Linked DNA regions of Homo sapiens: regions 2, 3 and 4 are each linked to region 1. The links are contacts of gene promoters, found by promoter capture Hi-C in blood cells and fetal thymus (Javierre and others, 2016). All regions are on one chromosome and are shown on one strand. Each heading gives the region's core, a stretch centred on a gene start or on the middle of the fragment in contact. The rest is flanking DNA. Distances are from core to core; before and after follow the strand shown. Region 1 holds the start of NCOA7-AS1 (NCOA7 antisense RNA 1). Region 2 overlaps TRMT11 (tRNA methyltransferase 11). Region 3 overlaps HINT3 (histidine triad nucleotide binding protein 3). Region 4 has its middle 9.7 kb from the start of HINT3.

Evidence for each region. Contacts are between HindIII fragments. The CHiCAGO score rates a contact against its expected background, and 5 or more counts as called.
Region 2: a fragment that was not itself captured here is called in contact with the fragment with the promoter of NCOA7-AS1 in region 1 in 2 of 17 cell types (activated CD4 T cells and erythroblasts); the score reaches 6.2 in activated CD4 T cells.
Region 3: a fragment that was not itself captured here is called in contact with the fragment with the promoter of NCOA7-AS1 in region 1 in 10 of 17 cell types (activated CD4 T cells, erythroblasts, megakaryocytes and 7 more); the score reaches 9.9 in activated CD4 T cells.
Region 4: a fragment that was not itself captured here is called in contact with the fragment with the promoter of NCOA7-AS1 in region 1 in 8 of 17 cell types (total B cells, total CD8 T cells, activated CD4 T cells and 5 more); the score reaches 6.8 in total B cells.

The regions. Positions count from the first base shown.
Region 1 is chr6:125,815,542-125,821,897 of GRCh38, reverse strand. NCOA7-AS1 (NCOA7 antisense RNA 1) reads left to right here and starts at 3,040. Exons shown (of 3, transcript NR_126386.1): 1 at 3,040-3,088. The region is part of intron 2 of NCOA7 (nuclear receptor coactivator 7); the gene reads right to left. RefSeq lists a silencer at 1-15 and an enhancer at 3,314-3,815. The HindIII fragment of the contact is 4,548 bases long and covers 1,566-6,113 here.
Region 2 is chr6:125,989,863-125,996,218 of GRCh38, reverse strand. TRMT11 (tRNA methyltransferase 11) reads right to left here. Exons shown (of 13, transcript NM_001031712.3): 2 at 2,397-2,462; 3 at 179-252. Among named protein-coding and RNA genes, the nearest start is that of TRMT11, 6.5 kb to the right of the region's middle. The HindIII fragment of the contact is 1,548 bases long and covers 4,023-5,570 here.
Region 3 is chr6:125,967,413-125,973,768 of GRCh38, reverse strand. HINT3 (histidine triad nucleotide binding protein 3) reads right to left here. Exons shown (of 5, transcript NM_138571.5): 3 at 1,441-1,510. Among named protein-coding and RNA genes, the nearest start is that of HINT3, 14 kb to the right of the region's middle. The HindIII fragment of the contact is 5,980 bases long and covers 1-5,829 here.
Region 4 is chr6:125,943,902-125,950,257 of GRCh38, reverse strand. No RefSeq gene overlaps it. Among named protein-coding and RNA genes, the nearest start is that of HINT3, 9.7 kb to the left of the region's middle. RefSeq lists enhancers at 3,621-3,915, 3,566-4,060. The HindIII fragment of the contact is 2,744 bases long and covers 1,397-4,140 here.

The DNA of each region.
Region 1 (6,356 bases), core at 1,791-4,290:
ACTGGACCTCAGACTCTGTATTTGACCAAGAGGACAAAGGAAGGCTTTTTGTACAGAATTATTTCTGCATTCATTTCTATCATGGGCAACTGCTCTTTTCAGACAACATGCAACCTTAGGGAGTAAAGTGGATCACTGTAATGCAACACCCTGACTTACACAGGTGAAGTATTACAGACTGCCTGCTTCCTATTGTCTTGGTAGGTTAATACTCTGACATTAACCATATTATAGATGAATAAGTTGATAAGACATGGATTATGGGATGTTGTCAAGTTATAAACAAATTATTTTTGAAAAGGTCGCTTATAAGTTAGACCTTTAGAACCTATGATGCATTTCTCCAAATTAATTTACACTGGTGTAAATTAATGTTCAGCTGTCAAGACTGCCCACAGAAATCTATGCAACCCACACTGTGAGTAGCAGCAGGTCAGGTGACCTGTGTTCTATAAGCCCCGTTTTGCAACTAAAGGGGCACATGGCAGCACTGCAGAGCATAAGCTCTGGATGGAGAAGGGAAGACCTGAGTTCAAATCCTGACACGCCTATCTTATCTCAGTGAAGTTATTCAACCCCTTTGAGTATAAATTATCATAGCAGTCAAATTATATTTAGGGATGAACTTTTTTTAAATCAGATGTTTGGTATGAAGATAATCTGGATCACTTTTTACAAAAGCCTTTTTCATATCAAGGCATGCAGAAAGATGATAATACTTCTACTCATCCCTGGGGTAAGATGCTGATCATAGCTAAAGATGACCAGCCCAGGTCTCTGACAAACCCAATCCCTGCCTGGCCACTCTGAGGACCAAGGGGGCCAGTATCACTGGCACGCCGCTTGACATGACGGTTCATCAAGCCACTCAAGTGGTGAGGCTCTGATTACCAATTAATATATCTAAAAGTACCCTGGGATAGAGCCAGCCTATCATGGACCCTTTCACCTCATGGGCTTAGGGTCCAACTGTTAAATAAAAGACTGTTAGGTTTCTCAAGGCCCTTTGACTATATAACTCCACTTCATTATATCCCAGAACCTAACTAACTGTGCTTATAGCAAAGTATCTTTGGGAAATGATATGGTTCCAATTTGGATTGTCGTTAAGTGTTCCTTCTTCCCTGATCTGAACAACAGGAGCAGCTCATGGGCTGAAAGTGGGAGGTCAAGATGAAAATTAGGTGAAGATGTAGGTAGACACAGAAGTAAGATCAGGAATGATTTGTTATTAAAGGAATGTGTGAGTACTCACTGTATCAGGTACTGTTCGTATATTACCCTCAATCTTCATAGCCATCTTGGTTTCATTTTACTTGAACACGAAAGCTACAAAGTGTACTATTCACACAACAGAGAAAGCTATACAGTGGGTTCAAATCTCCTCTGCCATGGAAAAGAGAATAAGGGGACCAGCTGTTCAGCTCTGGCCCTCCTTGCTGGGTCCCATTTGAGCTTCTCTCCAGTTCTGGCTGGTTGGGATGTCTCCTTCTTCAAAAGCATCTTGTTAGTTGGTTATTTTTAGCAACATTTAACAACTGAAGAAATGTAAGGTAAAGGAAGCTTAGAAGACTTGCCAGAGGTTATACACTGGAGTGAACTGCAAACACTAGGTGTTCTGCTTGTGGGTCAGAGGTTCAAGGGTGAAGAATTGCCAGGGCAGAGGCTGGAGATGGGAGCTAAGAAATGTTCTACACTTTGCATCCTTTGTCACTGAGAATGATGACAGAGGTGGTGCTGGCTCCTACTGCTGCTCTGAAAGGCTGGGTTAAGAGGAAAGCGGAGGTGGGAGCAGCAGTTCTGCTTTTCATGACAACCAGGGAATAGGGGAGGTGGGAGCCAACAAGGGACCTACATGAACACCCAGTCTGTGTCTTCGTCTATATTACTCACTGTTTACTCCCAGGCTCTCACACCTTATCAGAGGGGAAAAGTAAACCTCCCACAAAACACCATTTGGTTCAACTACAGATGTATTTTGGATATCTTCAATCAACGCTTGATCCTGAAAAAATGCTTTCAAAGAATCTTCAACCAATGGCATACAAGGACCTACTCGGAAATCACAAAAGCCAAATAATGTCAAGCAAGTGTGTAAGAAGACAGCCCTGTATGGCAATACTAAAGAAAATTTTGCATTCTAACTACAAGGGGAAGGAAGAGTCAGCAGGGGTGTAACAAATGACACATGATAGTCACCCCAGAGGATAGCATAAATTGTACACAGTACAAATAGTACAGAAAGTATAATTTGCTTTAGTAATTCAGTTTTTCATTTGGTTTTCAAGACCTGTCAGGGATCAAGAAATTAATATAGACATATACTAATTTTGCATATATAAATTATTTGCAAAACCATTTGTGAAAAAGTTTCACAAATCATTCAATCTAGATTTAACAACTGTTATAAAACTATCCTGAAGCACCTGAAAACCAGTTGGACCAGGGTCAGAAAATCCAAAAAATTCATCAGGTCTTATCCAGAATTACTCTATCTAGTAGCAGTATTAATCCACCCCTCTATTTAGAGTTACACAGGCATATTTCAAGATAAATTATAAGAAAGGAAAGACTGGGTGACCCTCAAATCACTAATTTCAATCCAAAATTATTAAAATAGGGTATTTTAAACTCTATTTTGATGTTAAAGAGCGAAACGTCAACAAAACAGGTTTGGCAAAGGACTATTTATCAAACACAGTCACACAACGATTATGAAACCACATGATAAGATAGCACACAAAGAAAACATTGGCTATTTAACTACTCAGGAGGAAAAACTAGGTGTTCCTAGTTTTTCCTAGGTGGAAGGGGGAAGCAGGCTAAAAAGCAGTTTTTAGGGTTTCAGATATGTAATTGTGGCAGCAGGCACAGCATCAGGGTAAATCTTCCTTTTGACTTCCTCAGAACACCAGTTGAGATTTATGTAAGGTGGTATAATTTAGTTTAGAGAAAACTGAGATTGCATCAGTTTGGCCTCACCCTTGGCCTGACATTTTATCCTTCTCTCCAGAGATCTTGCTTGGACTGCCCTTAAGTACGCTGCTCCAGAGAACTCTGCTCTACATTGTCAGAAACCAGCTTTCAAGTAAGTTCTGTTGCTAGTTCCACATGGTAATTCCACAGTTAAGTCAGAAGGCATTTGAAAAGATGTATAACTTTGGATGGCTCTTTTCTGATTATAGGCTGAAGGGGGTTCTTTTCTCTTTGGTTTGCCTTTTGCTTTTAATAGCTTGACCATTTCTGGCTTCCACTGCATTGTAAGAGCTAAACTACAGGTTTGTCAGTCAGTGTTTCTCTCTCTGTCTCTTTCTCTCTCTCCCTGCTCCTACCCCCTCTTCTCTCCATTCTCCTCTCTCCATCTCTCTCATTTCCTAGTTACAAATCATGTTGTCTTACTGTCTTAAGAGCATCACTGATTTCATCCTTGTGCCACTGTCCCTATGCTCCCAAGATCACATTTCAGCATTTTAGGATACGTTTTTTGTTTCATTTTTAGAATACTTTTCAGAAGAGGTCATGATAAGCAAGACAATTTTACATTTCTGAGTTGAAAAAACTGTGCTGCTCTTCCAGAACAGTTTTGGTTTGTATTCTCAGTTTCAGGGGCTCCCCTGACTCTACATTTTAGGAACAAGAAGAGGTTAACATTGAGCAGGTTGTTCATGAACCGGCAGTTACCTTTACTACAGGAATCACTTTGGATTCAGGCTGAGAAGGCACTATAGCTCTTAAAATCACTATGTAGGGCAAGTGAAGAAGAAAGAAAAGAAAGAAGAAGAAAGTAAGGAGGAGGAGGAAGGAGGAGGTGGGAGAAAGAAGGAAGGGGGAGAAGCGGGAAGGGGGAGGAGGAAGAAGAGGAGGAAGAGGAGCAGGAAGAGGAGCAGGAAGAAAGGGAGGAGGTGAGGAAGGGAGACGGGGAGGAAGGGGAGGAGAAGCATGACCACCATTTTGACCTAAACTCATATCTTATCCACAAATAAATTCAAAATGGATCACAGACTTAAATATAAAACATAATGCTATAAAATTTTCAGAAAAGAAAAACAGGAGAGAATCTTCAGAACATACAGCTAGGCAAAGAGATCTTAGAATTCAGACCAAAAGCACAATTCATAAAAGGAGAAACTGATAAATTGAACCACATCAAAATTAAAACCTTTTGCTCTGCAACTCTGTTAACTGGATGAAAAGACAAACTACAGTCCGGGAGAAAATATTTGCAAATCACATATCCAACAAAAGACTAGAATGTGTACAATTCAACAGTAAAAACCTAAACAATTCAATTAGAAAATGGGCAAAAGATAGGAAAGGAGATGCCACTAAAGAAGATACACTATGGCTAATAATAAGCACATGAAAATGTTAAACTTCACTAACCATTAAGGAAATACAAATTAAAACCATAATGAGATATCACTACATACTTATCAGAATAGCTAAGATAAAAATAAAAAATATTGACACCACCAAATGACAATGCAGACAAACTGGATTACTCAGACTTTGCTGATGGGAATGTCAAATGTTACAACCATTCCAGAAAAGAGTATTGCACTTTTTTATAAAACTAAAAATACACTTATCTTTTGACCCAGCAATTGCACTCTCAGACAATTATCTCAGGGAAATGAAAACTCATGCTCATACAAAAACTTGTACATAAATGATTGTAGCATCTAGCATCTTTGTTCATAAATAGCCCAAACTGGAAACAACCTAAATGCCCTTCAATGGGTAAATGACTAAAAAGCTGTGATTCATCCATACTATGGAATGCTACTGTGCAATAAAAAGGAACAAACTATCGATACATGCAACAGCTTTGAGGGATGTCAAGGGAGTAATGCTGAAGGGAAGAAAAAGCTAAATGCCAAAGGTTACATACTATATGATTCCATTCACCTAGTATTCTTGAAATGACAAATTATAGTGGTTGTCAGAGGAGGCAGGCAGATGGAAGGAGTGAGTAGGGATACAAAAAGGTAGCATGTGGGATCCTTTTAATGCAACTGTTCTGTATCTTGACTGATGGTGACCACAGAAATCTACATGTGATATAACTGCATGGAACTAAATACACACAAACACACATACAATGAATGCTCTGAATAAGGCTGGTGGATTGTATCAATATGAATTTCCTAGTTGTGATACTGTACTATGGATAAAGAATACAGGGTATCTATTACTCCTTACAACTAACTACATGTGAATCTAAAATTATCTCAAAATAAAAACTTTGGAGATCTTATTTATTCTAAATATCCTATCTTTCTGGTGCCTCATCCATTAGATGCCTGATGTCTTCCTTCCCTAATCTGGTTACTCTCTGTAGTCATAATAGCAGAAAATATTTTACTACAATTGGTAGTTTAACTTGTGCTTCCCCAAAACCTTATTCATGATTTACTATTCCTAACTGGAGCATGCCTTTTGGAGATGGCCTTATGTTTAATACTGACTCTTATGCTGCATGAAATGGACAAAATATTTTCTGAGTCTTAGTTGCATCACTGGTAAAATGGAGATAAATTAACCGATGTCATAGATTTATTTTGAAGGCAATTAAAATAATAAGTAAAACACTCAGTACATAGTAGGTCCTTAAATTGTTTCTGTCCTTTTCCCATTATCAACCTAAAATCTAGCTTAATTACTAGATAAAAACATCAACAACAAACTTTGGTTTTGGCTCCAAGGCTCATGTTTAGAAAATAATAAATGCATCTCTAATGAGCACAGCCTGGGGACTGGGGATGGAATGAGGCTAAATTCAGTTCTTAACATGTATTTCAATTTAGGAGAAACATAATGTTTTTAAGCCTATGTTCTCTGAGTCTGAAAACATTCTGGCTTATCAAAATGTTTTACAAATGTTTAGCATATAATTCATTTTATTATGTTTAGTGAGTGCCACATAGACATTTAAATCTGTAAATGGTAACCAATCATATACTACATTACTTCTATTCAGATATCAACAAATTTATTTATGTTGGACAAGTTCCAGCCTTAAAAATGACTCTGATTCAAAAATATAATTTCACCCATTTCACCTACCTACAAAAATATTTCTTAGTAATAGACTCCCCACAAGGTGATAAGCTTTAAATGTGTCAGAGATTTTCAGTTATAGTCCAACCTATTAAGCTACAGAACAGTAGGAACAAAGCACTTAGGATTTAAAATTCAAGGTAGGTTGCTAAACATGGGATTTGGAGCAATTTGCAGGTCAGAGCATGACAGCTGGATTCGCTGAGCAACACTGGCCTGAGAGAAGTGTCAAAGCTAGAAAGAGAAGAACCAAATGTTACACTCCTCTAATATGAATAAAATGGATGAAGCAAAGT
Region 2 (6,356 bases), core at 3,547-6,046, 170 kb before region 1:
TTTCATCCTTGGTTTCGGCAGGTAACCCTCCTCTGGTCCCCCACCGCCACCCAGTGGCAGTTGTATGTAACTGCAAGCTAAACTGAGCCTTCACACTGCCCAATATAGCAAAAAACAGGATTGAGTGGTTATGAGAAGTACCAGTATATTCATGCAGGAGAACATAAGTTTCTCTTACTTGGCACACACTGTCCGTTTCATCAAATTTCTTGCAATATCTTCAGAGGGAATGCTAAGAATCCAAAATGGTGACTAAAAGAAATAACAATATGCAACTTAATTCTAAGTGGCTACATGGCCTCATATGCTTTTATTCAAGAAGTCAATAAGGAGAAGTGCCTATTTGCTACTTTCATGTAAGAATATCTGATCTGACTGTAACCAAAATAAAAATCGTTCCAATAGTAAAAAAGTAAATTAGAATAATATAGTAAAAACATTTTTATAATGACCCTATAAACGAATATATCCTCAAATGAAACATTAATTTTGTATCTGCCCTTTTATGTAGCTTTACGAAAGGAATTAATGCATATTATATCCCAAAGTATAATCTTGAAATTCATCATGGCTAATCATCCCTTATAATACAGCTATTTCATTTTTAATTTCTAAGTAATGTATTTCTTAGTTGCTACATGAGACCTTTTTCTAGGTAGGTGTGGCCATCTGAGGGTGAAGGAGGGGCCCTTTGAAACAACTATGATAGAAAATCATGAGGTACATTATTAAATTCTCATTAGCTTTTACTATTTTATATTTTATCTAGGGGAAAAAAGCTCCAAGTGCATCAGGGGTGTTTTCCCAATCCTCTATCCCAACACCCAAGATTACAGGCACTGGTAAGCTGCAGCCAGATAACCTCTTGCCAGAACACAGCAAAATCCAAAAGGATCCTGACCTCATTTCATCACCCTTAGCCAATTATATCCGCACTCTCCTTCCTTTCCTCCTCCCCTCAATAAGTGAAAGTCATTCAGGAATAAAAGTCCAACACTACAGGACTTTCAACTTTAGCTCTTTCATCTTTTGCAAGAAATCCTTCCTGTCACACCTAGCTTTTTTCTTTTTTCTTCAACTTTTAAGTTCAGGGATACCTGTGCAGGATGTGCAGGTTTGTTGCATAGGTAAACGTGTGCCATGGTGGTTTGCTGCTCAGATCAACCCATCGCCTAGGTATTAAGCCCAGCATCCATTAGCTATTCTTCCTGATGCTCTCCTTCACCAGACTCCACCACCCCCAACAGGCTCCAGTGTGTGTTGTTTCCCTGGACATGTCCATATGTTCTTATTATTCAGCTCCCACTTATAAGTGAGAACACGTGGTGTTTGGTTTTCTGTTCCTGCATTAGTTTGCTGAGGATAATGGCTTCCAACTCTATCCATGCCCCTGCAAAGGACATGATCTCATTCCTTTTTATGGCTGCACAGTATGCATGATCTCGTTCCTTTTTATGGCTTCCATGGTGTATATGTACATTTTCATTATCCAGTCTATCACTGATGGCATTTAGGTTGATTCTATGCTTTGCTATTGTGAATAGTGCTGCAATGAACATATGCATGCATGTATCTTTATAATAGAATGACTTATATTACTTTGGGTATATACCCCGTTTTTTTTCTTCCAATATTTACCCTACCCAACAGAAAAATTCAAAATAATCCAAACAAGAAAAAATATTTTCATCTTAGTATTACTTTTATTGAGAAAATTTTTAAAGCAACCTGAATAAAATGAAATGGTTAATTATGGTAGAGCTAGTCAATGAAAAATATTATGTAGCTATGTTAGAGATAAAGGCCAAGTAACAACTTAGGCCTATATTGACACTATCAGGTGAGAAACACAGACTACAGAAGTAGAATTACAATAGGGAAAAAAAAGTACACGAAAAAAAAAAAGACTGGAAGGCAGCATCCCCAAATTATAAGTCACGTCAAGAAGGAACTGCAAATTATTTTTTCTATTTTCCAAACTTCTGTCAAACACTGATATAGTTTTATGCAAAATACAAAGCTCATAAATTCAGTCTTATACAATGCACAATTTCAAATTTTAAAATGATTCTCAACACGAGCCCAACATTCTGCCAAATTCTAAATTCAAATTCTAAACACAGCTCACCAATGGAGCACAGCCCTTTTTTAGGTGAAAGGACAAATTATGACACAACTGTTGACTAAAAATGTAAAACAAATAAAATACTAGAAATAAATCTAAATTACTTAACAAAACCACAAATTTTCCAAAAATATCCACTTTATTCCACTGCCTCTTGAAACAGATACAAGTAACCATACAAATATAAATTTAAGATATGCACTTCTTCTCTTCAAACCCAAGGCTCTATTTCTAAGTATACTCCATATGGTCTAATGAAAATTTAACTTACCTTTCCATAAGTTTCTTGACTGCTGGCAAACTGACCTCCAAAAAGCAAAAGCAAAGACTTTATTTCCTGTATTGAAAATATTACAGAGAAAATACATTTTAACAAAAAGGAACTAAAAATGTACTAAGGGAGACAGGTATTACATGACTAAAAAATAAGAGTAGGCTGAAGATCTAACTGAGGCATTTAAGCTTCAACATCAGACAATTACAATTTAGGGTTCAGAAATAATCTAATAATAAAAACCACAGGTAAGTAATTTCTGAGAAATTTTCGACAACAGAAGAGTTAGCAAACACTTGATCAAAAAATTCCCTGATTTTGGAAAGGAAAAAAACAGGTTACACAAAGTGCAGATTAGTAAGACTGACGATTGATGAATAAAGTTAAAATGAAAATCAGACACATGATTTGAAGATGTTTGGAAAAGAAAAAAATAATCAGCCAGGGCATACCACTATGTATTCATTAAGCACAAATAACTATCTCATCTTCTTTCTGTGTAAAGTTACAGAACTAGAAACAGAACTAACATAATAGATACTTTAAAAGCATCATTCATGCAAAGTTGAAATCTGTCCAGAGAGTGTTTATATTCTTTGAAGCAATCACTTTGTACTGATAAACCCAAATAATTATACAAATTTTATAATTTGTATGACTAACAAGTTATCTCCTTAAATCACATAAAACAGGTAGAATCACACTCTTCCATATAGGTCTCATGGAGGATGGAACCTAATGAGAGGTAAGTGTTCCACTGCTGGCTACCTACTATCCCCTTTCCTCCCAACCAGAAGGAAGAGCCTTTAACACCAAGCCCACCGCCATCAAAAGGGAAACTATACCCAGACCAGGAAGTCCCCCACTCCAAGACCAAGAAGAATGAGAAGTTCAAGCTACTAGTGCCATTTCTATTTTGTCTATGCAACAAATCATTTTTTAAAATTCAGTGTTAGAAGGGGCTGAATTCAGTCCAATCAGATGGATCGACCAAGAACTATCACAGACTACTGATAAATCAGTGAAGGCAGCCCAAAGGTTATTTTGCAGCAAGGAAAACACAAATCTGAATAGGAGACATCATGAGACTTAGAAATTAAATAGACCATAATCTGATTTTCAGCTCTTCCAAATACTAGCGATGTGGCTTTATACAAGAATCTTAAATCCTCCAACTTTTAGTTCCCTCAAATGTGAAACAGGAATCATAGCTACCTCATCAGGTTAGGTGAACTATAAAGAGAGAAGCATAGAACCTAGGTGGTTATTAAGGGAATCAAAATGATGAGGACCCTGATAACTGTCCTAGAAGTCCAGTGGCTCAAGAAGTCAACCAAGACTGATAGAGTTATAGCACTTAAAAGAAAAAAAATAAAGTTATAGATTAAATTACTTCATCTTGCATGATTGTTGTTTGTTCTATATTAAAGCATATTGTAAAGTCAGTTTTACATTTAAAACATCCAACTATAACCAAGTTAAAACACCAAAGTTTGCTGCTCCTGGAATATACTGTTAAAAAGCTGCAACAAGCTAAAACACAAAGATCCTAAGAGTTAGGTGGGGAAAAAAAGTGAAAGATTAAAGTTTTATGGCATAGCATTATCTCTACTACCCAAAGCTTAAGCAGCCACCTAAAACTGAGAATAAATATGATAACCCAAGTTTCAAATTGAAAAGCAAAACATGTTTAAACCACTTCATCAATCTACTTGGAAAAAGCAAAACACAAAATGTTCATTAATCTTATGGCAAATTCAACTTTCCAGTTGAGACTCTTTCTATATTAGGAATAAAAAATAATTTATATTGAACATTGGATATAAAAATGTAGCATGATCTGGGGCATGTGTGATGCGTTAATTCCATGAGCTTTTCTATTATTTCAGCTACTTGCTTTTTCATCCATTTAAAAGGTTGCTTCAGGACAAGCAATAAAACCCAGGAGTTTGAACTTTAGTAAACACTATTTAGTACAATAAGTACTACATTAAGTAGCTGCCAACTATACTTAGCCCTGATTAACTCTATCAGAGGTAAAACTGGACCACACTTATATTCCTGATCTCTCATTTTAATTCATAAAGGCAGCCATTCATTATAGCTTCCTTGCTTATCAGTTCTAATGCAGTAGCTGGGCCCAAAAGGATAGACTGTCCTTTGCATTGCCTTTCCCAGAAGAGATTCTATATCACTGATTTTAATATTTTAAGCAGCCAGGTATGGCGGCTCCACCTGCAATCCCAGCACTTTGGGAGGCCGAGGCAAAGAGATAACTTGAGACCGGGAGTCTGAGACCAACCCTGGCAACACAGTGAGAGCTCCCAAGACCCCCTCCCGCCCCCTCACACCAACACTCAGCCTCTGATTAACACCCGGCTCCACAAAAATAAAAATAAAAAAATTAGCCAGACATAGTGGTGCACCTGTAGTCCCAGCTACTCAGGAAGCTAAGGTGGGAGGATGGCTTAACTTGGGTCTTTGAGGCTGCAGTGAGCCACGGTCACGCCACTGCACTGTAGCCTGGAAAACAGAGAGAGAACAGTCTCCAAAAAAAATTTTTTTTTTTTTTTTGAGATGGAGTCTCACACTGTCACCCGGGCTGGAGTGCGATGGTGTGATCTCGGCTCACTGCAACCTCCACCTCCCAGGTTCATGCGATTCTCCTGCCTCAGCCTCTTGGGTAGCTGAGATTACAGGCGCACACCACCACATCTGGCTAATTTTTTGTATTTTTAGTAGAGATGGGGTTTCACTATGTTGGCCAGACTGGTCTCGAACTCCTGACCTTGTGATCCGCCCGCCTCAGCCTCCCAAAGTACTGGAATTACAGGAGTGAGCCACTGCGCCCGGACCCCCAAAAAAATTTTTAAGCAACTAATATGTGCAAGTCCCTGATCTATGTAAAAATACACACACATTTATCTTAGGGAAATTATGGTCTAGTAGAACCAACAAAACCACCTCACAACTGAAATGTAAAGTGTAAAAAACAGTACATGTTCTTAAACAGGTAAAAGCAAAAAAGTATTAGAGTACAAGAGAGTAAAAGATTACTTCAGTTTGAGAAGTAAAGTTTCATGGAAACTGCCTCAATCCCTGAAAAAAATCTAACCCAATGACAGGAATTCAACTTCCAGGTATGGCAAAAGAGGTAATTCAGATTAAGCTTCTTGCTGAAAAGAACTAGAAAAGCTGGCCATCTAATTGAAGGCATAGAAAGATAACAAAAATTACCAAACCAACATCCAGGAGAGGACAAAAATTCCAAGGTGGAGCCACTTTTTCCCTGAGACATTTACAAATCCAAAAACAGCTGCAAGAGTGAACAGCCCTTCTGAGTGCCCGATAGAAAGGGAAAAAAAGAGAAAGGGCCCCCCAGAGGAGAAAAGGATACTTGATGAACCACCTAATTTACACTAGGATGTCAAAAAGCTACACTCTGTGAGTACCTGGGAATCAGAACACAAACAGGGCTTAACACCTGAAAATGAGTTAAACCCAACCTAGATTCCTCATGCTCCTATGCGTTCCTATCTTCTTGAAGAGGATGTACATCATCCCAGCCCTCAAATTATTTTTTCAAATAAATTTTCAAATACAACATCTGGCATATATTTTAAAAATAGCCCACTATATGAAACAGAACAAAAAGAAACAATAGAAACAGACCCACAGGATCCCTTTTATCATATACTTTAACATAACTACGCTTTCTACATTGAAGGGGATTCAAGAAAAAAATAAGAATTTTGGCAGAGGAGGAAAAACTACAGAAAGGGAACTGTGGATCTGAAAAATAATCATGTAAAACATATAAAGCTAAAAGAAATAAACATGTGATTAACTCTAAATGAATACTTCCTATGTAAAAATCAATAAAGAATGGGAAAGACCCAAACCAGACTAAAGGGAGCACAGAGAGCAAAGGTGAAAGCAGGAATTCAGGGAATAATG
Region 3 (6,356 bases), core at 1,590-4,089, 150 kb before region 1:
TTCTTCTAATAAGTATCCTATGACTGTGAAGGAAATGTGTGGCTTCTGGCCAAAGGGTCTCAAACACCATTTGTTCCTTGTCATTATCACACTTGGTAATACTTAACAGTTTTTGGAGGATTTTTCACACAGAGAATCTCATTTGCACCTACCAGCAGGCAGAGCAGGTATTATCTTGGAGAGGCTAAATGGCATGTCTAAACTAATACAGACAGTGTACGTAGAGTACACCACAAGTAGCATGGATGGCATTAGAATTCAAGTCTATTCTGAATTCTAGGTCAAAAGTGTTAGAAGTAATCTCCATTATACCTGCTTGGGTCACAGAAGCAAAATTGGAAACCTTTTAAAAAGAAAAACATTACTTAGACAAATTAAAACATTTGAAAAGGCCCGGCGCAGTGGCTCACGCCTGTAATCCCAGCATTTTGAGAGGCCAAGGCGGGCGGATCACTTGATGTCAGGAGTTCGAGACCAGCCTGGCCAACATAGCAAAACCCTGTCTCTACTATAAGAAATACAAAAGCTAGCCAGGCATGGTGGCATGCACACACAATCCCAGCTACGTGGAAGGCTGAGGCAGGAGAATCACTTGAACTCCGGAGGCAGAGGTTGCAGTGAGCCAAGATCGCACCACTGCACTCCAGCCTGGGGGACAGTGCAAGACTCCGTCTCAAAAAAAAAAAAAAAAAAAAAAAAAAAAGTTGAAAAATTGAACATCATGTGCTTACGCCAGAGTTCAGCAGACAACAAATTCAAGTTAATTTCACGTTAGAATTATAATCATGTGTTTTTAAATCATATAAAATTTTTCTAAGAAAATTCAACTTGCATACAGTTTTATAGGAATGCCCATATTGAACAAAGAAAAGTAGATTTGCTGGGTGTGGTGACTCACACCTGTAATCCCAGAACTTGTGTGAGGCTGAGGCAGGAGAATCACTTGAGCCCAGGAGTTTGAGACAAGCCTGGGCAACATAGGGAGACCCTGTCTCTACCTAAAAAATTTTAAAATTAGCCGGGTGTGGCAGTACTTGCCTGTGGTCCCAGCTACTCTGGAGGCTGAGGTAGAAGGATACTCAGTCTGGGAGGTTGAGGCTGCAATGAGCCATGATCACACCACTGCACTCTAGCCTGGGCAACACAGTGAGATCCTATCTCAAAAATTTTTTTTTAAAAAGTAGACTTGTAACTATTTTACCTACCCACTGCCCATATAGACTTGTCTGTCCAAACTTCAAGTGGAAATTATTGGAAGATATTGAGACACAAGAGGAAGTTTTATTACATTTATACTACCAATGAACTATATTCTCACTTTCAGGAAAACTACATTTAAACCACAAACTGCCACCTCTGTTTCCATTTTCCATGGAGAAATGACATTTTGAAAAACGTCAATAATGTATAATATTGGTTTCCATCTGGAAGTATACACACCTCACATTCGTGAAGTCAGTGAAATTATTTCTTTCAAGAATGGTTTTTCCAACAGTTACCATGTTCTCAACTGTAAAACAGAAAAGACACAACATTACACTAGAGGAGACATTAAGGTCACAAATTGCCATTGATCTTCACTCTTGTCCTATCAAATGGGTAAACATTTAAAGACACATTCAGGCCAGGCACAGTGGCTCACCCCTGTAATCCCAACACTTTGGGAGGAGGATCACTTGAGCCTAGGAGTTTGAGACCAGCCTGGGCAAAAAGGTAAGACCTCGTCTCTAAAAAACATTTTTTAAAAAGTAGCTGGGTGGCCAGGCGCAGTGGCTCATGCCTGTAATCCCAGCACTTTGGGAGGCCGAGGCAGGCGGATCACGAGGTCAGGAGATCGAGACCATCCTGGCCAACATGGTGAAACCCCCATCTCAACTAAAATACAAAAAAAATTAGCCGGGCGTGGTGGTGCACACCTGTAGTCCCAGCTACTCGGGAGGCTGAGGCAAGAGAATCACTTGAACCTGGGAGGCAGAGATTGCAGTGAGCCGAGATTGAGCCACTGCACTCCAGCCTGGTGACAGAGCAAGAGTCTGTCTCAAAAAAAAAAAAAAAAAAAAAAAAAAGGTAGCCAGGCATGGTGGTGCACACCTATAGTCCTAGCTACTCGATACGTGGAGGCAGAAGGATTTCTTGAGCCCAGGAGGTCGAGGCTGCAGTGAGCTATGATTGTGCCACTGCACTCAGGTCTAGGTAACAGAGTGAGACCCTCTCTCAAAAATAAATAAATAAAATAAAAAATAAAGACATTCAGTAGCTTTAAGTCACTGAGAAGTTTGCTTATCAACAACTGAAATAAAGTTTCAAATTGAGCCTCAGTGCAACATCACTATCACAAAATCTCACAGATAAGTAGACTTTAGGACAGCTGGCTATTTAGGACATCTGATCATATGAGGACTAACTCTCATCAAGAAGACCAAGTAATTAAACAGAAATTGTTTGATTTAATAAGACAAGAAAACTTTGAATTTGTCTTTGAGCCCAAATTAAGGATATGGTATCCCTTCCAGTCAGCCTATCCTTGACTAGCCAAAAATTTGTATAATGACTCTGGCTTCCAAATTCCATCTCCTTTATCATCTTTCTTCTCTTGGTGTTTTATGGCCTTCAGGTGGGAATAAACCTGTCCACCAAAAAAATTTTGGTCACCTGGGATCTTCAAAGCACCATGCCAAATGTTAGGCCTCCATAGTTTCTAAATGGTGTAATCATGTATTTGAAAGACGAAGAAGTAAAAACATCTACAGAGGATAGCTGATATATTGAGACTTACAAAATCATTGTTAATGTTTACTTCTTTAAGTCAGGTTTGAGCTGGGAGACTGCCAGCCTTCCAAGACTAGGTCAGTACCATAGAGTCCAAAAAAAAGCTCCAAATTACTTCAAGCCAGACTATATCTTTTTTTGGAATTTTTTCTTTTTCTAATTTAATTATACTGTCTTTAGAGAACATATTTATAAGATTTCAATCATTTGATATGTATTGAGCTGTATTTTATTGCTCGGAATATGGTCAACTTTGGTGAACATATGCTTTTTAAAAAACATGTATGCTGTATTTAAGTGGAGTTCTGTAAATGTCAATTATAGTCATATTCCTTGATAGTGTTCTTGAACTCTTCCATATGCTTATTATTTCCTCAACTTTATCAATTATATAAAAATTATTAATTTGCAACAACTTTTAGTATGGAAATATTCAAATATAACACAAAAGCAAAGAGGAAAATGTAATGGAATCCCAAATACCTACCAGCTGCTTCAAAATTAGCAATATTTGATTTGCAACATTATAAAAACTAGTTATAACAGCCTCTATTCTCCACTTCTGCTGAATATAAATTGAAAAATTCCTAAAAAGCTAAAGTGTGAAACCCAAGAAATAACTACAAGAATGAAAATAAAAACTTTTAATAAGAAAGATGAAATGTTTCAATCAGGTAAATCTAAATTGGATCTAATTGTTATAAGCTCAAATGTACAGTACAGGGTACTGTAGTTATAAATCATATATGTTCTCAAATGTACTGATAGAACTTCAAATGACTAAGGAACTTAGCTGTATTCAGAATCGACAGTTTAAAAATTGTTAGTTAATTCACTAGCCTAAATATTAATGAACTACACATCAAGGTTTTCCATTAAAGTGGTTTCTTACCTCTTAAAAATCTAGCCCAATTGATCTATCATGTAGGCTACCTTAAAATATTGATCAAACTAATCCCAGAACCTCATGACAAAGCCTTTCCAGATTTCAGAAGTCCTAGCCAGAGCAATCAGGCAAGAGAAAGAAATAAAAGGCATCCAAATAGGAAAAGGAGTCAAACTATCTCTCTTCACCAACAATCTGAGTCCATACCTAGAAAACCCTGAAGACTCCACCAACAGGATCCTGGAACTGATAAACTACTTTAGTAAAGTTTCGGGATACAAATTCAATGTACAAAAATCAGTAGCATTTCCAAACACAACACTCAAACTGACAGTCTAAATCAAGAACACAATCCCATTTACAATAGCCACACACACACAAAAATACGTAGGAATACAGCTAGTCAAGGAGGTGAAAGATCTCTACGAGGAGAACTATAAAATGCTGCTGAAAGAAATCATAGATGATACAAACAAATGAAAAAACATTCTATGCTCGTGGACTGGAAGAATCAATATTGTTAAAAAGGCCATACTGCCCAAAGTAATCTATGGATTCAACACTACCAACATCATTTTTCACACAACTAGAGAAAACTATCCTAAAATTCATATGAAACCAAAAAACCCAAGTAGCCAAGACAATCCTAAGCAAAAAGAACAATGCTAGAGGCATCACGTTACCCAACTTCAAACTATACTATAAGTCTATATAACCAAAACAGCATGATAGTGGTACAAAAACAGACACACAGACCAACAGAACATAACAGAAAACCCAGAAATAAAGCCACATACCTGCAGCCATCTGATCTTCAACAAAGTTGACAAATATAAGAAATGGGAAAATACGCCATATTCAGTTAAATGGTGTTGAGATAGCTGGTTATCTATATGGAGAAGAATAAAACTGGACCCCTACCTTTCACCATATACAAATATTAACACAAGATGGATTAAAGATTTAAATGTAGGACCTCAAACTATAAGAATCCTAGAGGAAACCCTAGGAAACACCATTCTGGACATCAGCCTTGGGAAACAATTTATGACTAAGTCCTCAAGAGCAACGCAATAAAAACACAAATTGACAAGTAGGACCAAATTAAAGAGCCTCTGCACAGCAAAAGAAACTATCAACAGAGTAAATGGATAACCTACAGAATGGGAAAAAGTATTTGCAAACTATGCATCTGACAAAGGTGCAATATCCCGGATCTGTAAATAAATTATTAAACAATTAAACAACCAAAAATCACCATGAAACAATGGGCAAAAGACATAAACGGACACTTCTCAAAAGAAGACATACAAGAGGACAAAAAAATATGAAAAAAATGCTCCACATCACTAATCATCAGGAAATGCAAATCAAACCCACAATAAGATACTATTTCAACACCAATCAGAATGGCTATTTTTAAAAAGTAAAAAAATAACAGATGCTGGTAAGGCAGAAGAGAAAACATAACACTTACATGCTGTTGATGAGAATGTAAATTAGTTCAGCCACTGTGGAAAGCAGTTTGGAGATTTCTCAAAAAAATTAAAATAGAACTACCATTCGACCCAGCAATCCCATTACTGAGTATATATCCAAAAGAAAACAAATTATCCTACCAAAAAGACACATGCACTTGTATGTGAGTCACAGCACTATTCACAACAGCAAAGGCATGGAATCAACCTAGGTGCCCATCAGCAGTAGACTAGATAAAGAAGATGTGGTACATATATACCATGTAATACTATGCAGCTATAAAAAAGAATGAAGTCATCTCCTTTGCAGCAGCATGGATGCAGCTGGTGGCGATTATTCTAAATGAATTACACAGGAACAGAAAACCAAACACTCTGTGTTCCCACTTATAAGGAGAGGGTAAACACTGGGTACTCATGGACAAAAAGATGGCAACAATAGACACTGGGGACAACTAAAAGTGGGAGAGAGAAATGGGGGCAAGAGGTGAAAACCTAACTGTTGGGTACTATGCTCACTACCTGGGTCACAGATCATTTGTATCCCAAACCTCAGCACCACACAATATACCCACGTAATAAACCTGCTCATGTACCATCAAATCTAAAATAAAAGTTTTATCTAAATCTTCAAATCTAAACCGTCAAATCTAAAATAAAAAATTATCTTTTTTAAAGGCAGATTTGAAGTAAGCTTAGAAATGTCTTAGAAAATGATAGGTGACAAGCCACAGAAGGCATGAGTAGGAAAATGAGCAATCATCCTTAATAGACAAGATTCAGAATCTCCTTTTCAGAAGCTAGAAGTTCATCACTAAAAACTCATAATTAAATTTTGGTGCTAATTCATCTTCACAGGATACTATAAGGCAGGTACCAACATGATCTCACCATAAGGCAATATGAGCTCATTTGTCATATCGTAACTTGTTTGTTTATAATTTTTCATAGCACCTTTCATTTCAGAGTCAAGAAAGTCCATCATTTAAAAAGTCATAGAAATAGGCCAGGCACGGTGGCTCACACCTGTAATCCCAGCACTTTGGGAGGCCTAGGTGGGTGGATCACCTGAGGTCAGGAGTTCAAGACCAGCCTGGCCAACATGGTGAAACTCCGTCTCTACTAAAAATACAAAAATTAGCCAGACATTGTGGCGCATGCCTGTAAACCCAGCTACTTGGAAGGCTGAGGCAGGAGAATTACTTGAACCTAGGAGGCAGAGG
Region 4 (6,356 bases), core at 1,519-4,018, 130 kb before region 1:
ATGTATTACATATATTGAAATCCTCATACTCAACTTATTATGCTTGCTCATTTCATTATTGTCTGCTTCATCTCTATTGAATGTAATCTCAACAGGAATTTTTATCTGTTGTGTCTATTGTGTTCATTGATGTATTTTCAGTGCCTATATGTGGAGCGTGAGATTCAGAGAGTAATCAAGGACAATTCCGACTTTCTTAATCTGAAAACTGGAAAGTTGAAACTGCTGTTCACCAAGATGGGGAACTCTGTGGGCAGAGCAGTTTGGAGGTTGGGCAGGGAAGATCAGGCATTCAGTTTTGGGTATGTTAATTTGAGATGCTGTGTCATTCAGTTTAGGCTATGTCTCTTGCAGTAAACAACTCCAGGAGGATAGAGGCCCTCGCTGGCATCCCCATGTATCAAAACCAGTTCACGGCCTGGTACTGGCAGATGTCCGTGGTCAGCACCAGGACCTTGGTGCGCTCAATGTTTTACTTTGGCCAGAAAAAGGAGAAGCCAACAGGTGATGAAGTAGAACAAAAGGATGCCTCAACAAGTGAGGTACCCCGTGAACTATCTGAATGCCCAAAAGGGTTTTATATGCAAACGATGGTCACATATAAAGAAGATTTTGTCCCAATTACTGAAAAGATCCTCACCTATTGGAAATCATGGACTAGTGGCCCTGGTGCAGAATCGTGACTGGCTGCTGAATTCTGAAAACCAGGACTTGGTTCAACATGTAAATTTGATAGCTGCCTTGATTCCCATTTTGTGTTTGTGAAAAGTGTGTATATTTTATTTTGCTGTAAAACATAATCACTAATAATATGCAATAAACATTTTCTTGAAGGAAACAAAACAACTCCAAAAACCTTAATGCTTTAAAGCAAAAAAGTTTATTTCTTGCTCACTCACATTTGTGTCTACTGCAGGTCAACTGTGTCTTCGTGGACTTTATCTCATGACCCAGGCTGAAGGAGCAGCCTCCATCTGGAATGTTTCTGGTGTCAGGGCAGAGGGAAGAAATAACACAATGGAGCCACATGATGGCTTTTAAGGCTTCTTCTCAAAAACAACTTAAGTCAGTTGCACCGCATGTCATTGACCAAAGCAAATCCCAAGGCCAGCCCTGACATCAGCAGAACAGGGTAAGTATAATGCTGGCACTGGACAAGGCAACAAATATTATGAACAATAATACACTCCACTACAGATGCCTATTTGGTACATCTAAGTGACAATGTCATTAGTAATTGGACATATGAGCCTGAGGTTCAAGACAGAAGTCCAACCTGGAGATACACATTTTGGAATTTTCAACATATAGTAAAGTATTTACATTCACAAAATTAGAAGAGATCATCCAGGGGGTAAGTAGAAGTAGAAAAGAGAAAAATTCCAAGGACCAAGCTTGGAGCAGTCTAGCATTGTGAAATCGGATAAATGACAAATAATGAGACGTGAATGAGAAAAAGTGTCCTATGACACAGGAGAACAAGGAGAGAATGGTGTCCTGAAGGCAAAGCAAAGAGTGTTTCAAATAGGAAGGCGTGATCAACTATGCCAAAGGCCAGTAATAGCATGAGAAAGAGGAAGACTCAGAATTGACCTAAGGTCATTGGAAAAGCTGATAAAAGCAGTTTTAGTGTTAGAGGTGGGAAGAAAGGCTGATTCCTGTTGGTTTAAGAGAGAATGATAAAAAAGGAATTTAAGTCAGTAAGTTAATAACCAAAGAGATTATTCATAGGAAAAAAGAGAAGTTATGTAAAAAATATCAGAGACTATGAGCTACACTGATAAAGGCCAGAAGAGGTAGAGATACCGGAGTGGCTGAGCAAAGTGACTGTTACCAACTCAAAGTAAATAAATTTCTTTCATGTTAAGTTGCTCAGGTGTCTCCATTCCTTGAAACCTCAGGAAACTCAACTAACTTACCATTCTTTCCCCACCAGCTTTCTAACTCTACCTCTATCACATTTTAAAAATTTTATACACTTGCTTCAGTTTGCAAGCTGTGTATCCTGGTATGTTAAATGGATTGTTAAATTATTCCATTATTATATGCTGTTTAAATCCTATACATAGGATGATGCTTTCTAGATGTTCCTGTCAGCTCCCAATACTTATTTGAATGTAAATTCCCTGTGGGTGGGACGTGGTCTTGTTTATCAAAACATCCAGCCTGGTATCTGGCACACAGTAGGCTGTGGAAAAACATTAATTGTGGGAATGGATAGATGGATTGTACATATTTAAAAATGTACAGTGAAATCTGATTTTCTCAATGGCATCACTAATGGCATAGCTACTGGTATTGTCCTTTCAAATTCAACTTTTCTTTTTGTGGGTTTTTATTTCTCTCCGTGATGCTAAATGCATAATACTCTTTTTATTGCTGCTTCAAATACCAGTTAATATCAGTATTCTGGGTGGAGCTGTTCCTGGCAGGCTGTCATGAACCTAAGAGGCTGCCTTGGCACAGAGGCCCAACCTAACTGATGACCAATCCTTTCTCAAGAGCATTCCAGGGCATCTTCTCTCAGCAGGAAACTGCTGGCTGGGCCGTACCCTTAGAAAGGGATAGTGGACCCTTCTAGTACAAGAAATTAGCTCATAAAGACAGTTGTGACAACTGGCCACCATTTCAGGGGGCAAAAAAAATTATATCTCTTCTTTATACCATGCACTCAGATATACTTCTGTTGAAATTAACTATTTAAATGCAACAACTGAAACCAAAGAACTGTTACGGGTTTCTTTAAGATGTGGGTGAATATTTACTTTGCCTTGGGGGTGGCAAGGAAAGGGCCTAAGTGCTCAAAATGGATTCCATTAAATAAATTACTGATTGATGTAAAATAAGATTTTTTAAAGTATGTAAAAGTGCCAAAAACTGCATTGAAAGAAAAGTGGAAATTTGAGTGAAAATATTTGCATCATGCGTGAAAAATAGTATTAATAAACTTATCTAGGAAGAGTTCTTACAAAACAATGAGAAAGAATTGAGGCCAGCACAGTGGCTCACACCTGCAATCCCAGCACTTTGGGAGGTCGAGGCAGGTGGATCACTTGAAGCCAGTAGTTTGAGACCAGCCTGGGCAACATGGTGAAATCCTATCTGTACTAAAAATACAAAAATTAGCTGGACATGGTGGTGCACGCCTATAGTCCCAATTACTCAGGTAGCTGAGGCAGGAGAATCGCGTGAACCCACAAGGCAGAGGCTGCACTGAGCTGAGATCATGCCACTGCACTCCAGCCTGGGCTACAGGGCAAGATCCTATCTCAAAAAAAAAAAAAAAAAAAAAAAAAAAAAAAAACAGTTGAAAACCCTAGCAGAAAAATAAGCAGCTTTTATGAAAGTAATTAATTAAAAGAAAAAGTACCATTTAAAAATGTGAAGAAAATATTCATCCTTACTAGAAATTGAAGAAGTCTACGTTAAATAACAGTGAAATAAGCCTTTCCCCAATTAAATTGGCAAAGATTCCTTTATGCAATAGCATTTGTATTGCGAGGGCACAGGAAAATAAACACTCTCCTACACAACTGACATGATGCACTCTACATTTCTGATAACGTAAAGAAAGAGTTTCAGGAGGGAGGATAGGAGACCATTTATGGGAATTACAGAGCTCTATGAGGGTTAGAGAGCTGGAAATAAGGGGTGCCCTGGGACTCTGATGCTTCCCGTGTAATTCACATGAGCAAGGATAAAGGGCGTAATGGGAAAATTGAAGCTCTCAGAAGAGAACTTCAACTGACTCCCTCCAAAATGATGACTCATATACTTGGCCTTCCTGACTGATACCAAAGATAAACAGTCTGTGCTCATATCAAAACTAATTCCTCCACTTACATGCTAGATCCCATTCCTTCTTGCTCACGCAAGAACACCACTTCAGAAATTCCCCTTATGTCTTACATCATGTATTTTATTATCTTTACTGGATCATTCTATCCACTTACAAACATGCTATAATTTCTTCCACTCTAGAAAAATGAAATGAAACTTTCTTTTGAGCCTACTTTTCCCACCAGGACCTGTCCCATGTATTTGTTGCTCTTAGCAGGAAATCTTGAAATAAGTGTCCATACTAGCTCTCTCCAATTTCTTTCCTCCCGTTCTCTTGTAAACCTTCTCTTCTTTCAAGCTTTTCTCTCCACACACACTGCTCTTGGGTGACCTCCACATTGCCAAATTCAATGGCAATTCTCAGTCCTTTTCTTATCTGATTAGCAGCATTTGGCACATTTTAATAATCCCTGTCTCCTTAATACACCTTCTTCATATGTTTCCAGGTCACTGCATTCTCTTGTTTTCCTTTTTTCCTCTTAAGTTCTTTCCCTTCCCTTTGTATCTCCCCTCTAAACTCTTAGTGTTGGAATGGTCCAAGGCTCAGTTCTTGGTCTTCTTCTCTATCTACAATTGCTCCCTTGATTTTATCCAGTCTCACTGCTCTAAATATCTATAGGCCCATGGCCTACACTTGTAACTCTTCATGCTTTTCTTCAAGTCACAATCCAACTACATGCTTGATATTTCCATTCAGGTGTCCGATAGATTGAACTGCTGATTTTTTTTTTTCCTAGAAATCTCTTTTATGCACAGACTTCCAATGTTGGCTGATGACAACTTAATCTTTGCAGCTCTAGAGCCTTTGACTCCTCTGCTCAAAATTCCATTCTTATCAGCAGGTTGATTAAGTAACTTGTGCAATGTCATCCTATTAGTCAGTGACAGAGCTGGAACCCAGAGCCAGGCAGTCTAATGGGAGCTTGAATATGTTAAATAGGTTACAAAAGAGTATGGCTAGTATGATTCCATGTTTATTAAATATAATTAAGGATTTATAAGAAAATGCCTGAAAAAATAGATTCACTCTTGGTCTGTGGATGGACATATTATGGCTGGATGTTTTTCCTTCCCTTTTATCTCTACATTTTATTTATTCAACAATACTTTTGTCATAAGTAAAACATCCTGATCAACTTTTTTTAAGATTCAGGATTCCAGATGAACTTCATTTCCTCTAATAATTCTCTGCTTTATAAATAACCCTCTTCCATATATTTTTGAATTGTTCATGACATGTCAGAAGATATAGGGCATTTTCATGCAGATTTCATGGTATTTCTGGCAGAGGTGGACTATTGAGCTGCTATGACCATATGCATGATACAGTGTCATGTTTCTTTCCATTTTATACTGAGGATATGGAAAGTGTGTTTGTGGGTTTGTCCTAATCTGATAAAATATCATCTTGACAATAGGTATATCGTTTTCTGCATCCAAAATAGAAATTTCCTGAGCATGAATACAAAGACTATTCCTGTCTTATATTTAGTAAATACCAATAAATTTTTGCTCTTTCACCACTGTCTGAAGAATATTAGATTTTTCCAAAGGTAAAAGAATAACAAGCATGAAAACATTTCTCCCTCCTTAAGAAAAATAATAAAAGAAATACTTAAGGCTAAGGTGGCTGTTGCCTGGTACTAAATGCTGCGTGTATATTGGCCTCCATCCGTTGCAAGGATTGTGAAATGTCTGGGCAAAATAAGGGGAGGAAGTAGTGCTTGTGTGTGGGAAAAGAGAAATTTCCAGTTTCTGATTACTGAACTACCGTACAGCTCTCTTTGAACAAATACTGGCCGGTGGCCCAAAGTCCCAACTGTAGCTCTTTGAGCTTTGCTAAAGGACATTAAGGGAAGTCCTGATCTGTTGTTAAGTGGAAACAGTGTAAATTATTTCTAATGGAAAGAATGACAAAAGCAAAACTTCCCCATCCCTGCTATTTCCTTGATAAATTGCTTTGTTTACTCGTCTACAGGATGTAATGCAGACATTTCTGTTTTTTATAATCTTTCTTAAAAACCATGTCCTTAAACAAAGCATTGAAAATAATCTCTTCTTTTTTTTTTAAATCAGGAACAAGGCTACACCTGGACTTTGTATTTTTGATAAAGAATTCAGCATAAACAAAGTTGGGTGTGACTAACACCATCATATTTCTAACTTACTTTCATCTGGCATTTTACAATTTTCTAAGACACTTTCATATGCACAAATTGATTTTCATGTCAACTGAGAGAAAAGGATATTATTATCCCTATTTTAGAAATGGAGAAAATAGGACACAGGAAGATGAATTTACTTGGTGGATGATAGATGGGTCTGTCTTGCAGGCCTTTTAGTAGCACAGTGAGGCATTTCTTATCTCCTCCAAAGCAGTACGAAACAGCTACCATGTAAATCAGCATAACTCTGACATCCTGAAGTTAATGTCAATTTTCTTGTCAAGCTCACACCTATATTTCCTCATCATCTCAAGGCCAATGTATCTTATCCACACCACTAACTCTTGTTCT